3 separate regions of the Homo sapiens genome follow, and regions 1 and 2 are each linked to region 3. Evidence: promoter capture Hi-C in 16 types of primary human blood cells and fetal thymus (Javierre and others, 2016). All regions are on one chromosome and are shown on one strand. The core of a region is centred on a gene start or on the middle of the fragment in contact, and the rest is flanking DNA. Distances in the headings are between cores, read along the strand shown. Region 1 overlaps LOC101927060 (a long non-coding RNA gene). Region 2 overlaps CDC27 (cell division cycle 27). Region 3 holds the start of KPNB1 (karyopherin subunit beta 1).

Region 1 (4,301 bases), core at 69-2,568, 570 kb before region 3:
TTAAGTATCATTCATAACAACGACAAAACTAATGATATATTTAAAATCTTTATAGAGAAAACAGTAATGCCTGAAAGCATGAAGCTCTATACAAATGGTAGGATACATTTTTTAAGGATGGTGATTCTCATGAACATCTATAAATTCAAAGAAATTCCAGTCAAATTGCCTACAGTATTTTTAATGAAAGCTGAGAAACAGATCCAAAAGTTCACATGACATAAAGGACCAACAGCAAGAAATTTGGAAGAAGGCATGATGCAAATACACATTACCAGATAGCCAGATTTGCTGCAAAACTGTAGAGAGCCTCAAAACGTAGAACTAGATACATAAAAGATACCGGGAAATTTTCTTTTAATCAGATCAGTGGGGAAAAAATGAAACTATTCAATAGTACTAAACTGGCCAGTTCTTTAGAAGGAAAAAGTAAAATTAGTTCCCTTCTTCATGATATAATTACAAAATTTTGGCACTTCAAATTGCTAAACATGAACAGCCAAACTTAAAAGAACATCTTCGGGACTTAGAGCAGGAAGTATTTCTTAGATAAGACACAAAAATATCACCTACTTTTCAACATGCAATAGAAAATCTAATAAAATTAAAAGGCAAACTGTACTTTGGTGGAAGATATCTAATACATATAACTGAAGATTAAACATCAGAATATGTAACAGAACTCTCAGAAATAGATTAAGAGAGGCCGGGCATAGTGGCTCACAACCTGTAATCCCAGCACTTTGGGAGGCGGAGGCAGGCAGATCACCTGAGGTTGGGAGTTCGAAACCAACATGAACAACATGGAGAAATCCCGTCTCTACTAAAAATGCAAAATTAGTCGGTCGTGGTGGAGCATGCCTGTAATCCCAGCTACACAGGAGGCTGAGGCAGGAGAATCACTTGAACCCAGGAAGTGGAGGTTGTGGTGAGCCAACATCATGCCATTGCACTCCAGCCTGGGCAAGAAGAGCAAAACTCTGTCTCAAAAAAAAAAGAAACAGGTCAAAAGAAAAAATGACAATCTTAATAGAAATAGAAAATTCACATAAAAGGCAAATAATTAATAAATATATAGAAATGTGTCATCTCATTAAAATTTAGTTAAAATGTAAATATTAGGTAAAACATTAAGATGCTGTTTCAAATCTGGATGGGAAAACACGTAGTCCGATAAAGCCAACAGGTGGTGAGAAATGGATAAGTACAATTCATACATTGCTGGTAACAGTTAAAACTGGCAACACCATTTTTGAACAATAATTTGGAAGTACTTGGCTAGGCGTAAAATGTGCATACCCAATCATCATGATATTCTATTTCATTTTTCTTTTGTTTGTTTCTCCTTTTCTGAGAGGCAGGGTCTCACACTCTATCATTGAGGCTGGATTATGGTGGTGCAATCATAGCTCACTGTAACCTAGCGTTCCTTTGCTTAAGCTATCCTCCCACCTCAGTCTCCCAAGCAGCTAGGATCAGGAGCATACTACTGTACCTGGCTAATTTTTTTTTTTTTTTTTTTTTGAGACCGAGTTTCGCTCTTCTTGCCCAGGCTGGAGTGCAATGGCACAATCTCGGCTCTTTGCAACCTCCGTCTCCTGGGTTCAAGCAATTCTCCTGCCTCAGCCTCCTGAGTAGCTGGGATTACAGGCATGCACCACCACACGCGGCTAATTTTGTATTTTTAGTAGAGACGGGGTTTCTCCATGTTGGTCAGGCTGGTCTCAAACTCCTGACCTCAGGTGATCCGCCCACCTCAGCCTCCCAAAGTGCAGGCATGAGCCACTGCACCCGGCCCTGGTTAATTTTTAATAAAAAATTTTGTAGAGATGGGGTCTTGCTGCGGTGTCCAGGTTGCCCTCAAACTCCTGACCTTTGGCCTCCCAAAGACATGAGCCACTATGCCCAGCCATGAAATTCTGTTTCTGAGAACATAAACTATACATTCCTCTGAATGAGGAAACAGGTTCACTGGAGTAGAGTCTCTAACAGCTAAAAACTAATTATATTATAATTCTGTTGAAGTTGGTAAATAGACTATATTCATTTAACAGATCTTTCTATAGTAATAAAAATAAAATTAACTATATGTATCAACATGACTCAATCTCAGAACATATTGTTGAATGAAACAATAAAAAAATACTAAACAAGATTAAGTACACACAAGTAGTAAAGGAATTTGACGAAATACTATCTAGCAATTTAATTACTGTATGTATCAACATGACCTAATCTCAGAAATGAGGAATGCAAAAGCTGAATGAAAACAAAAATAATAAACAGATAAACATTAATAAGCATTGTTACCAATACAGATAAGGGATGAATATATTTTAAAATGCACAGAGCTGATATACAACAAATTTACAATCAAGCTCCTCATTAGCTCTGGAAAGGGGATGGAGAGGTTGGATTTTAGCTCTACTTATAATGTAATGTTTGACTTCTCATGTAAAAACAAAAGATAGAAATGTGACAACATTAACATTCTTTAAATATTAAGACTGGGGTTACATGGTGTCTACTGTATTCCGTAATCAAAATACTTCATAATCCACCACAAAACTGTTTTCCCAGAAAGCAGCAGCAGTCACACAGCCCTCAGCCCCACTTCCCATCAGGATACACACACTCACTACTAAAACTTGTGACTATAGGTGAACTTGAACACAGTCTCCCATAGGGGCAAAATACAAAATGTCAAAAATAAAAAAGAACAAATCTGACCGCAACAGGGTAAGACGTAAATTAAAACTTAATCATACCATAATAATTAAGACCAAGGATAGCAATGGTATTTTAACTTTTGTATGGACCAAACATAAACCATTCAAATCAACCACTGTGATAAAGTATTATCAATTATGTCTCTTCTTTTAGAAAGAAGACATTTTACAGTTCCCTAATTTTGGTGGAACCTCTTCAAGATAAAAAGATACTTTTAAAGTACAGTTATCTGCTTCAATGTTGGCTGCAGGTCTAGCTCTACCCTAAATCCAGGAAATGATCTCAAGAGATCAATAAGAACCTAGGGATCATTCTTGAACAAGAAAAATGCCCCCTACCCACAAAGAGACAAAACTAGTTAACCCTCATATTTTATTCCCACCTTTCCTTACTCTTCAAGGCTTACCACCTTTCTATCCTGCAAAATCTTTTGGATTTATAGATTCCTTTCATTCCTAAAACTACCACCACACCAGGTCCCCATCTATCACCACTGGACAACCCCAACAGCCTCCTTAGCTGCTCTTCCCAACACCAGTCAATCATACTACTTTTCCTCAATCAACTCCCCTCAAACTGTTTTCATCCTGGTATTCTAATGTTTAAGGAACCACACACTTCCTTTGTTTGAAAATAAAAAAGGAAAATAAAATTACTTAAAACATTTTAGTTCACAAGAACTTTGATAAATACATTTTTTCTTGGATATTAATGAAAGTCTTACATCCCCTACACAGGTATTTCCCTAAATAACAATACAAAGTGAGCCTCCTGATAATATGTTTTGGATAATATGGTTAATAAATAACTAAAGAAAGGCAAGGCAGCACTAAGGAATACTAACAATTCCCAATTTATGAACAAGTTTCATTTTACCAGTGTATCTGTGATATGATGGTTTAGAACTGGAAGTGATTTCTAGGAGAAAGTTGTTACAGTATTGTTCTTCCATAATGCTGGCTCAAACTCTGATCATCTCCAATGAAAAATGGAAAACCTCAACTCAAGTGTCCAAAAAGTATCTTGTGTTCAAAATGCCAGCAATATGAGCAGAAAACTAAGCTGTTATTAAACGTGAGAGGTGTACAGTTAACAAGTTTGGAGTAAGTTAGCTTTCATACTCCAGTGGCAGAGCAGAGCATCACAAAATAATATCACAAGAATAAAAGCTTCACATTCTTGTGTTCCTTAAAAACAAGCCATACAAACTCAGCTTATCAGAGGTAAAGATAAGACTTCCTCCTTAACATTCAAAAGGTAAATTTATTACTCTGACAATTTACAGCTCAACAAGGGACATTGATTGAACATTAGGGACATGTTTAATGTTATACTATACAGACTTCAGGAAAGAACACAGGACTAAGGTTGTAGAATGATACTTTAAATACAATGAGGACTTGGTTTCTAATACAGTCATTATCAATAATGAAGAAAATCATGTGGATTCTGACATTGATGAGTCAACTCATTCCTGTTGCTTGTTTCTGTGCTATTAGTAAAATAACTGTTTTAATTATGTGTCTGGGTAGGACACTAGAATGCCTTAGAACATTTGATTTTACTGTGTG
Region 2 (4,512 bases), core at 77-2,576, 520 kb before region 3:
ATGAAGTGACTTGTGCAAGGGATAAGGGCAATTCTGTGATTTTTTATGCTAAGCCAAATGGGTAGTATTTTTGGGTGTAATAGGCTCCAGAATACTGTTTCAACACAAAAAAGGACCAATTTTTATCACAGCAATTAAATCAATAACAAACATATTTCAAAAGGGAGATTAATAGAGTATTAATGTTTAGAAAGCTACTTACTACTCCAATGTGGCAAAGTAAAACTGAACTTTGAGGGTTGATATCAAGCGCTTTTTGGAAATGCATTTCTGCAAGGCTGAATTTTTCTTGCTTGTAATAAATCATTCCTAAACCATACCTGAAAGTATAAAACAAAGTATAATTTTAAAAATATAAAGTTTAGGTTGCTAATTTAGTTCAATTAGTAAAAGAACAAGTATAGAATCTGGCATTTTAATAATCCAGTGGAATACTGGTGGTCTTAGAGGAGAGGCAAAAAATACCAGTTATGATAAAAATCATTAAAGCATTTTATTTACTTATTTTTAAATAAAAAAATTTTTTTTTGAATTAGGGTCTCACTCTGTCACCCAGGCTGGAGTGCAGTGGGCCAATCATAGCTCACTGCATCCTTGAACTTCCGGGTTCAAAGAATCCTCCAGCCTCAGCCTCCAGAGTAGCTGAGACTACAGGCATGAACCACAATGCCTAGCCATTAAAGCAGTTTATTATTATTATTATTATTATTATTATTATTATTATTATATTTTAAAGATAGCACCTCACTCTGTTGCCTAGGCTGGAGTGCAGTGGCTCAATCACGGCTCACTGCAGCCTTGACCTCCCAGGCTCAAGTGATCAATCCTCCCACCTCAGCATCCTGAGTAGCTGCAACTACAGGTGCACGCCACCAGGCATGGCTAATTTTTGTATTTTTTGTAGAGATGGGGTTTTGCCATGTTGCCCAGGCGCATATATATATATATATATATATATATATATATATATATATACACACACACACACACACACACACACATACATATACACACACACACACACACACACAAACACACACACACAAATATACATATATATATATATATATATATATATATATAATATATATGTATTTTTTTGAGACAGAGTTTTGCTCTTGTTGCCCAGGCTGGAGTGCAATGGTGCAATCTCGGCTCACCACAACCTCCACCCACAGGTTCAAGCAATTCTCCTGCCTCAGCCTCCCGAGTAGCTGGGGATTACAGGCATGCACCATCACGCCCGGCTAATTTTGTATTTTTAGCAGAGACGGGGTTTCTCCATGTTGGTCAGGCTGGTCTTGAACTCCTGACCTCAGGTGATCCGCCCGCCTTGGCCTCCCAAAGTGCTGGGACTACAGGTGTGAGTCATGGTGCCAAGCTGTTTTTTTGTTTTTTTTTTGAGACGGAGTTTCGCTCTTGTTGCCCAGGCTGTAGTGCAATGGCATGATCACAGCTCACCACAACCTCCGCCTCCCAGGTTCAAGCGTTTCTCCTGCCTCAGCCTTCCGAGTAGCTGGGATTACAGGCATGCGCCACCACACCCAGCTAATTTTGTATTTTTAGTAAAGACAGGGTTTCTCCATGTTGGTCAGGCTGGTCTCGAACTCCCGACTCAGGTGATCCGCCCGCCTCGGCCTCGGCCTCCCAAAGTGGTGGGATTACAGGCATGAGCCACCACACCTGGCCTACATATATTTTTTTTCTTTTTTGAGACAGTCTTGCTTTTTGTCACCCAGGTTGGAGTGCAGTGGTGCAATCTCAGCTCACTGCAACCTCTGCCTCCTGGGTTCAAGCGATTTTCGTGCCTCAGCCTCCCAAGTAGCTGGGATTACAGGCATGTGTCACCACGCCCAGCTAATTTTCTTGTATTTTTAGTAGAGACGAGGTTTCCCCATGTTGGCCAGGCTGGTCTTGAACTCCTGGCCTTAAGTGATCTGCTTGTCCCAGCCTACCAAAGTGCCGGGATTGCAGGTGTGAGCTACCACCCCCAGCCTTCTTATATTAACATATTTTTAATTTTTTGTGGAGACGAGGTCTCACTATGTTGACCAAGCTGGTTTCAAACTCTTAGCCTCAAACAATCCTCCCACCTTGGCCTCCCAAACGCTAGGATTACAGGCATGAGCCACCATGCCCAGACCATTAAAACATTTTAAAGAGTCACTTTTACAAGCAAAAACAATCAAATCAAATCAAATCAAACTATGATAATAAGGAAAAAAGAAACCACACCCCTAAACCCATATAGATTTTTTTTTTTTTTTTAATTCAACGTCTTGCTCTGTCGCCCGGGCTGGAGTGCAATGGCGTGATCATAGCTCACTGCAGGTAACCTTGAACTCTTAGGCTCACGCAATCCTCCCACCTCAGCCTCCTGAGTAGTTAGGACTACAGGCATACACCACCATGCCTAATTGTTTTTTTTTTGTTTTGTTTTGTTTTGTTTTGTTTTTGAGATGGAGTCTCACTCTGTTGCCATGCTGGAGTGCAGTGGCACAACCTCCACCTCCCAGGTTCAAGTGGTTTTCCTGCCTCAGTCTCCCAAGCAGCTGGGACTACAGGCACGCATCACCACACCCAGCTAATTTTTGTATTTTTAGTAGAGGCGGGGTTTCACCATGTTGGCCAGGATGGTCTTGATCTCTTGACCTCATGATTCGCCCATCTCAGCCTCCCAAAGTGCTGGGATTACAGGCGTGAGCCACCGTGCCCGGCCTTAATTGTTTTCTTTTTTTTTTTTTTTTTTTGTTAGGGAAGGGGTCTTGCTATGTTGACCAGGCTGGTCTCAAACTCCTGGTCTCAAGTAATCTTCCAGCTTCAGCTTCCTAAAGTGCTGGGCTTATAGGTATGAGCCACCATACCTGTCATATTCTAGATTTAACAGCTAATTTTTACTGAGTAGTTATTACATGTGTGCCAAGACCATTGCTAAATTATCTCATTTAATCCCTAGAGGAATCATAGGTACCATTATCATCCTTATTTCGAATAAGGAAACTGAAACTTAGAGAAGTTAAATAACTTGCTTAAAGTTATACAGCTAATAAAGATTCTAACCAGGTTCTTCCTTAATGATTCTAAAGGCTGAACTCCTAACAATGCTATTCCCACATTTCTGTTTTATATTATTATAATTATAGCATACATAGTGTCATGTTTGGCTTCCTTGTCCCCCACTTACTGTTATCAAAAGCATGCTCCTATACTTATAGACCTCAAAATTACAATTTCTAAAGGCTATGTAATAGTGTATTAGGTTAATATGCAGGTATTTCTCCTGAATTTTCAAAATGTCAAATGAATATAGTGTGGATGGTTTATATTACGGAGACTTCTCATGGCCATAACTAGATGATGATGATGATGATGATGATGATGATGATGATGATGATGGGGAATAAGCATCAAATGAATAAGAAAAAAGCACAACATATCTGCTTTATTTGAGTGGCTTTATATATCATTATACTTGTGTTATAGATGAAGAAAAGGTATTAAACACTATGCTAATGATAGTGAAAGTGAAAACAAAAGAAAGGCTATCTATTTTGTACTTAGAATAAAGTTGCTCAGTATTTAGTTACCTAAATACGTCAGCATTTAAACTCCTCCTAGTAAAAGCTTGCCAATCTGAATAATCCTCCTTTAAACACAATTTTTGATATGGTTAAGTTTTTTAAGAATGCAACTCCTGCAAAATAGCTGAACAGACAATACACATTTAAAAAAAAAACAACACAAGGATCAACCAGACTTGGGAAAAAATCAAAAACAACACAAGTCTTATTAAGAACTGAGTTCCTGGCCGGGTATGGTGGCTCATGCCTGTAATCCCAGCACTGGGAGGCCAAAGTGGGTGGATCATGAGGTCAGGAGATTGAGACCATCCTGGCTAACATGGTGAAATCCCGTCTCTACTAAAAATACAAAAAAAATTAGCCGGGCATGGTGGCAGGCACCTGTAGTCCCAGCTACTCGGGAGGCTGAGGCAGGAGAATGGCGTGAACCTGGGAGGCGGAGCATACAGTGAGCCAAGATGGCGCCACTGCACTCCAACCTGGGTGACAGAGCGAGACTCTGCCTCAAAAAACAAACAAACAAACAAAAAAAAAACTGAGTTCTTAAAATATTACAGAGAACATAGCTATCGGAAGAGACAGCAGCATTGGCAAGTTGATTGTTACATTGGTCAGCAAAAGCTAGCACTATTTTTTTGGCCATCTTTCAGGCAATGTAACTACTACTGCAAAATGAGACATAATCCATTAACAACATATTCACAAATCAAAAAATGTTTTAGTAATATAATGCTTCAGATTTAGAAGCAAATAGAATGATACAACTCAACTGCTATAATAACCCCAAAGATAACCGTATCTGACAAAAAAACTACCACAGAGTTATGGCTTCAGAATTATACCTTATCTTGATATTTAAACTATTAAGTCAGTCCAGAAAAATACAATAAATGTCAACAGTAAGTATGGTGTTGAGGCAGAAATAGGACCA
Region 3 (4,157 bases), core at 400-2,899:
CTATTATTACACTTTTCCTTTATCATTTTAAAAATCTTCATTTTTTTTAAAAGAGACAGGATCTCGCTAAGTTGTCCAGGTTAGTCTTGAACCCCTGGGCTCAAGCGATCCTCCCAAAGTCCTGGGATTGCAGGCCTGAGCCACATACTGTATGCACATTTTTTTTCTTTTCTTTGAGATGGAGTCTCGCTCTGTCGCCAGGCTGGACTGCAGTGGCGCGATATCGGCTCACTGCAACCTCTGCGTCCAGGGTTCAAGCGATTCTCCTGCCTCAGCCTCAGGAATAGCTTGGACTTCAGGTACGCGCCACCACACCGGGCTAATTTTTTATATTTTAGTAGAGACGGGGTTTCACCATGTTGGCCAGGATGGTCTCGATCTCTTGACTCGTCATCCGCCCCCCTCGGCCTCCCAAAGTGCTGGGATTACAGGCGCGAGCCACAGCGCCCGGCCCACGTTTTCTTTATATGCATTTTGCTAAGAAAAGGCATTCATGAGTTTCTTCCGGGGTTGAGAACTGAAACAGGTTAAGAACCACAATCCTTTATTCCTGTACACACATTCTTTCTGGTTCGAGGTTGGGCCTTTACAGGGTACTTTTGGAGGGTGAAACATTTCCATCCTGTCAAGTACCTGGTAGCTATGGATGGGGGGTCTAAGAGGAGGAATCCCTTAGCTCACCCCTAAGCAAGTCAGATTTATCACAGCACAGGTCTCAAGCCCCATATAAGCAGGCTTAGGGGACTCCTTGGAGAGGAAGCTGCTTGTAGGGACAAGGGCCGTCAGGAGAGCTTGAGCTTATCAAGCCACTAACCAGCTGTGTGACCTTGGACAAGTTCCAGACCCTCTCTGGGCTCCTGAACCCATTCCTTACCAAGCCATTAACCAGCTGTGTGACCTTGGACAAGTTCCATACCCTCTCTGGGCTTCAGTTTCCACATCTACACATTGGCAGTGGAGCCACATGGCCTTACGGATCCCTCCCAGCCGAAAGCAGGGTACCAAGCCGACCTAGCCATTAAAGCAGCTTCCTGTGGGCGCGGCGCAGGACTTCAACAGTCCCCCCTCCCCCGCTCAGGCCCGCGAAAACCTCGCGCAACACGCCCCTCGGAGCGACGGCGCTTACCCAACCGCAGCCCCAGCGCTCGAACCCAGCTCCGCCTCTTCCCGGGGGCGTCCCATCGTGCCCCGCGCCGGGCTCCTAGGGTTGCCGGGCACCTCCCGCCTTCCCGCGCCCCGACCCCGAACTCCTCTCCTTAGTTCTCCCGGGCACCCTATCCTATCAACGCCTACTATCCCAGCCAATCGCGCAGGATCCGAGTCGTGCCTCCGGTCCACCCTCCTCCCAGCGCTCAGCCGGTCTGAGCTCAAGGCCTTTACCAAGCCCACCCAATCAACGGCGGGCTCTCTCCTACCCCATCCCAATCTCCCTCCCCTCGGCCAATCCGCGCGCTCCATTCCGCTGCCCGCCCAGCCAACCCGGGCCTTGAAACCAGCAGGCGAATGGGCGCGAGACGGCCCTTCGACGCTGAGCGCCTGGCCAGTTAGGGATTCCGCGTGGCCAGGACAACGGCCAATCGTCGTGGAGCGCGGCGCCTCCGCGGAGAGGTCCGGTCCGAATATCCCTCCGCCTTCCTCCCTCCCTCGCTCCCTCCCTGCGCGCCGCCTCTCACTCACAGCCTCCCTTCCTTCTTTCTCCCTCCGCCTCCCGAGCACCAGCGCGCTCTGAGCTGCCCCCAGGGTCCCTCCCCCGCCGCCAGCAGCCCATTTGGAGGGAGGAAGTAAGGGAAGAGGAGAGGAAGGGGAGCCGGACCGACTACCCAGACAGAGCCGGTGAATGGGTTTGTGGTGACCCCCGCCCCCCACCCCACCCTCCCTTCCCACCCGACCCCCAACCCCCATCCCCAGTTCGAGCCGCCGCCCGAAAGGCCGGGCCGTCGTCTTAGGAGGAGTCGCCGCCGCCGCCACCTCCGCCATGGAGCTGATCACCATTCTCGAGAAGACCGTGTCTCCCGGTAGGACGCAGGAGCCGGGGGTAGGGCTGAGGTGATTGGGGTGGGGGAGGGGAGGCCCGGCCCCTCTGACCCCGCTCCGTCTCCCACTTTCCTCCCCCTAGATCGGCTGGAGCTGGAAGCGGCGCAGAAGTTCCTGGAGCGTGCGGCCGTGGAGAACCTGGTGCGTGCTACCCCGCCGCGCCCATCCCGCCGCGTCCCCATCCCCTGCGTGCGGGGCCTTCCCGCCCTCCCGGAGGCCCAGGCCTCGGGAACCTACCCCGCCCCATCCCGTCCCCCTCCCCCCTCCCCCTCCCCCCCCAACCCGGTCCAACCTAACCCCGCCATCGGGAAGCCGGTGGGTGTGTCCCGCCCCGGGCCTCGCGACTGGCCAATGGCTTGGCGCGCCGAGCTGCCTGCCGCCCAATCGTTGCGCGGCCTGAGGGCGGCGGTGCAGCGGGAGGGAGAAAGAGGGAGGGAAGGGAAGTTAGGTTGCGCGGCGCTGCGTGTTCAGCAGGGGTGGGGGCGGGGGAGTCGGGCCTAGGGGCCATGTGGAAGCTCCGGGCCCGGCCGCCCGCCCTGTCTGACCCCGGCCGGCTTCTCCTTCCTATCCCGTGGCCCCTGTGGCTCTCCCCACCTATTTCCTAGAGCTCTGCCCTTTCCTAGCTACCTTGGTCTGTACTCATGGCCAGGCCTGGCACCCGACTGCCTCTTAACCCATTTCCACTGATATTTTTCCCTCTTTGCTCGGTTATTCCTCTCTTGGGGTTTTTTCTTTTTCTTTCTTTCTTTTTTTTTTTTCTTCTGACCTGGATGAATAGAGACCTAATCACTAGGGATCTGCACCCAGAAAACAGACTGAGGCTCATCTTTGAGATGGGGCCTGTTTGCTGATGAAATCACAGGGGAAAGTTCCTCGTTTTTCATATTTTAAAATTTAAGGGGTCCGGAGAAAATGAAGCTAAGTCCGCTAGAGACTGGTCCTTTGTATAAAAATGTGGGATGGATTGGTTGAAACAGCCTAGATGCCAGTTAAGTTTCTCTTTGGTGTCCATCTCCTGTTGGGGGATGGGGTCAGAGGGAAGGATTGGATGATGCTTGACATCTTTGAGAAAGGTAATAGGAATTAAGTCTGAGTAACACTAACCATATGTGTTCCTTTGTGTTATATAGGCAAAATGTCAACATCAACAAAGTGACAAGGCTTATTTTATACAGACTGCCTTTGAATGATTTTTTTGTTGTTTTTCATATGTGCCAATTTTTACAACTAACCTGTTTATCCTTTCCTAGAAGAGATTTTTCCACTAGTATAGGCTGATAATTCCATTTAGGGTATTATTCCTGTTTCTGCTTTTGCAAATTTTGCAAAAAGCTTTTTATCTTATTCCTAACATTCTTAACATTCTTTAGTGGTACATAATTAATAAAACTTTTAAGAATTATCTTCTGCTGTGATTGCAGAGCTTGTTAGCAGTAAGAAAAATGTGTCTGCTTTTGACTTTTCCTGCTAACTTTGCTGTTTGGGCACGGTTTTTGGTGGAGAGGTGTGTGTGTGCTAAATTTTTAAACAAAGGGAGTAGTTTTTGAGGCCTGTGGATTACAAAAGGTTACAAAAGAACATGCTTTTCAGGGATCCACTGTATTCCTCAACTAAAGTCCAAATGTAAAGGAGCAAGTAATTGTTGATCATTAGATACAAAGTTATTTTGCTTGAACAGCTTGCCTGAAGATTTTTTCTTTCACTTTTTCCCTATTTCTAAATATCTTATCACTTTTCCTTATAAATCTGCTTTTTTCATTGTTCCCTTTTTGCTGAGTGCCCACAAATAAAACGGAGGATGAGGCTCCTAAGTTTGTTTTAGGCTTATCTGTATTTCCCCCTCTCATAAAAGATCACCTCCTTCCATGGATTGAAAAGCTACCCTGCTGCTGCCATGAGATGGAAAGTTGGATCATTCTTTTGGGACCAAGGTTTTTGAAATTTAGATAAACAGTTTTATTTTCTACCCCCCATCATAACAGCCATTCATTTAACAAACATTGAGTACCAGACATTATTAAAAGTTCTTGGGACACCTCAGTATACATAGAAGACTGACTACTACTACCATACTCTGAAACCTTGCAATTCGGGGGTCTAACATGACAATTTGGGCACTAAGA

The links. Contacts are between HindIII fragments. The CHiCAGO score rates a contact against its expected background, and 5 or more counts as called.
Region 1: a contact is called between a fragment that was not itself captured here and the fragment with the promoter of KPNB1 in region 3, in 1 of 17 cell types (erythroblasts). The highest score is 5.5, in erythroblasts.
Region 2: a fragment that was not itself captured here is called in contact with the fragment with the promoter of KPNB1 in region 3 in 2 of 17 cell types (erythroblasts and megakaryocytes); the score reaches 7.4 in erythroblasts.

Annotation. Positions count from the first base shown.
Region 1 is chr17:47,081,371-47,085,671 of GRCh38, forward strand. The region is part of intron 1 of LOC101927060 (a long non-coding RNA gene); the gene reads right to left. Among named protein-coding and RNA genes, the nearest start is that of RPRML, 100 kb to the left of the region's middle. The HindIII fragment of the contact is 5,157 bases long and covers 1-3,897 here.
Region 2 is chr17:47,132,055-47,136,566 of GRCh38, forward strand. CDC27 (cell division cycle 27) reads right to left here. Exons shown (of 19, transcript NM_001256.6): 15 at 203-320. It also overlaps the pseudogene LOC112268192. Among named protein-coding and RNA genes, the nearest start is that of CDC27, 55 kb to the right of the region's middle. RefSeq lists an enhancer at 3,876-4,512. The HindIII fragment of the contact is 4,591 bases long and covers 1-3,622 here.
Region 3 is chr17:47,648,270-47,652,426 of GRCh38, forward strand. KPNB1 (karyopherin subunit beta 1) reads left to right here and starts at 1,650. Exons shown (of 22, transcript NM_002265.6): 1 at 1,650-2,015; 2 at 2,117-2,175. The coding sequence starts at 1,976. It overlaps KPNB1-DT (KPNB1 divergent transcript), which reads right to left and starts at 1,159. Exons shown (of 4, transcript NR_171700.1): 1 at 1,127-1,159. RefSeq lists an enhancer at 1-650 and silencers at 1,051-1,320, 1,331-1,380, 1,391-1,570, 2,001-2,070, 2,181-2,320 and 1 more. The HindIII fragment of the contact is 6,441 bases long and covers 1-3,364 here.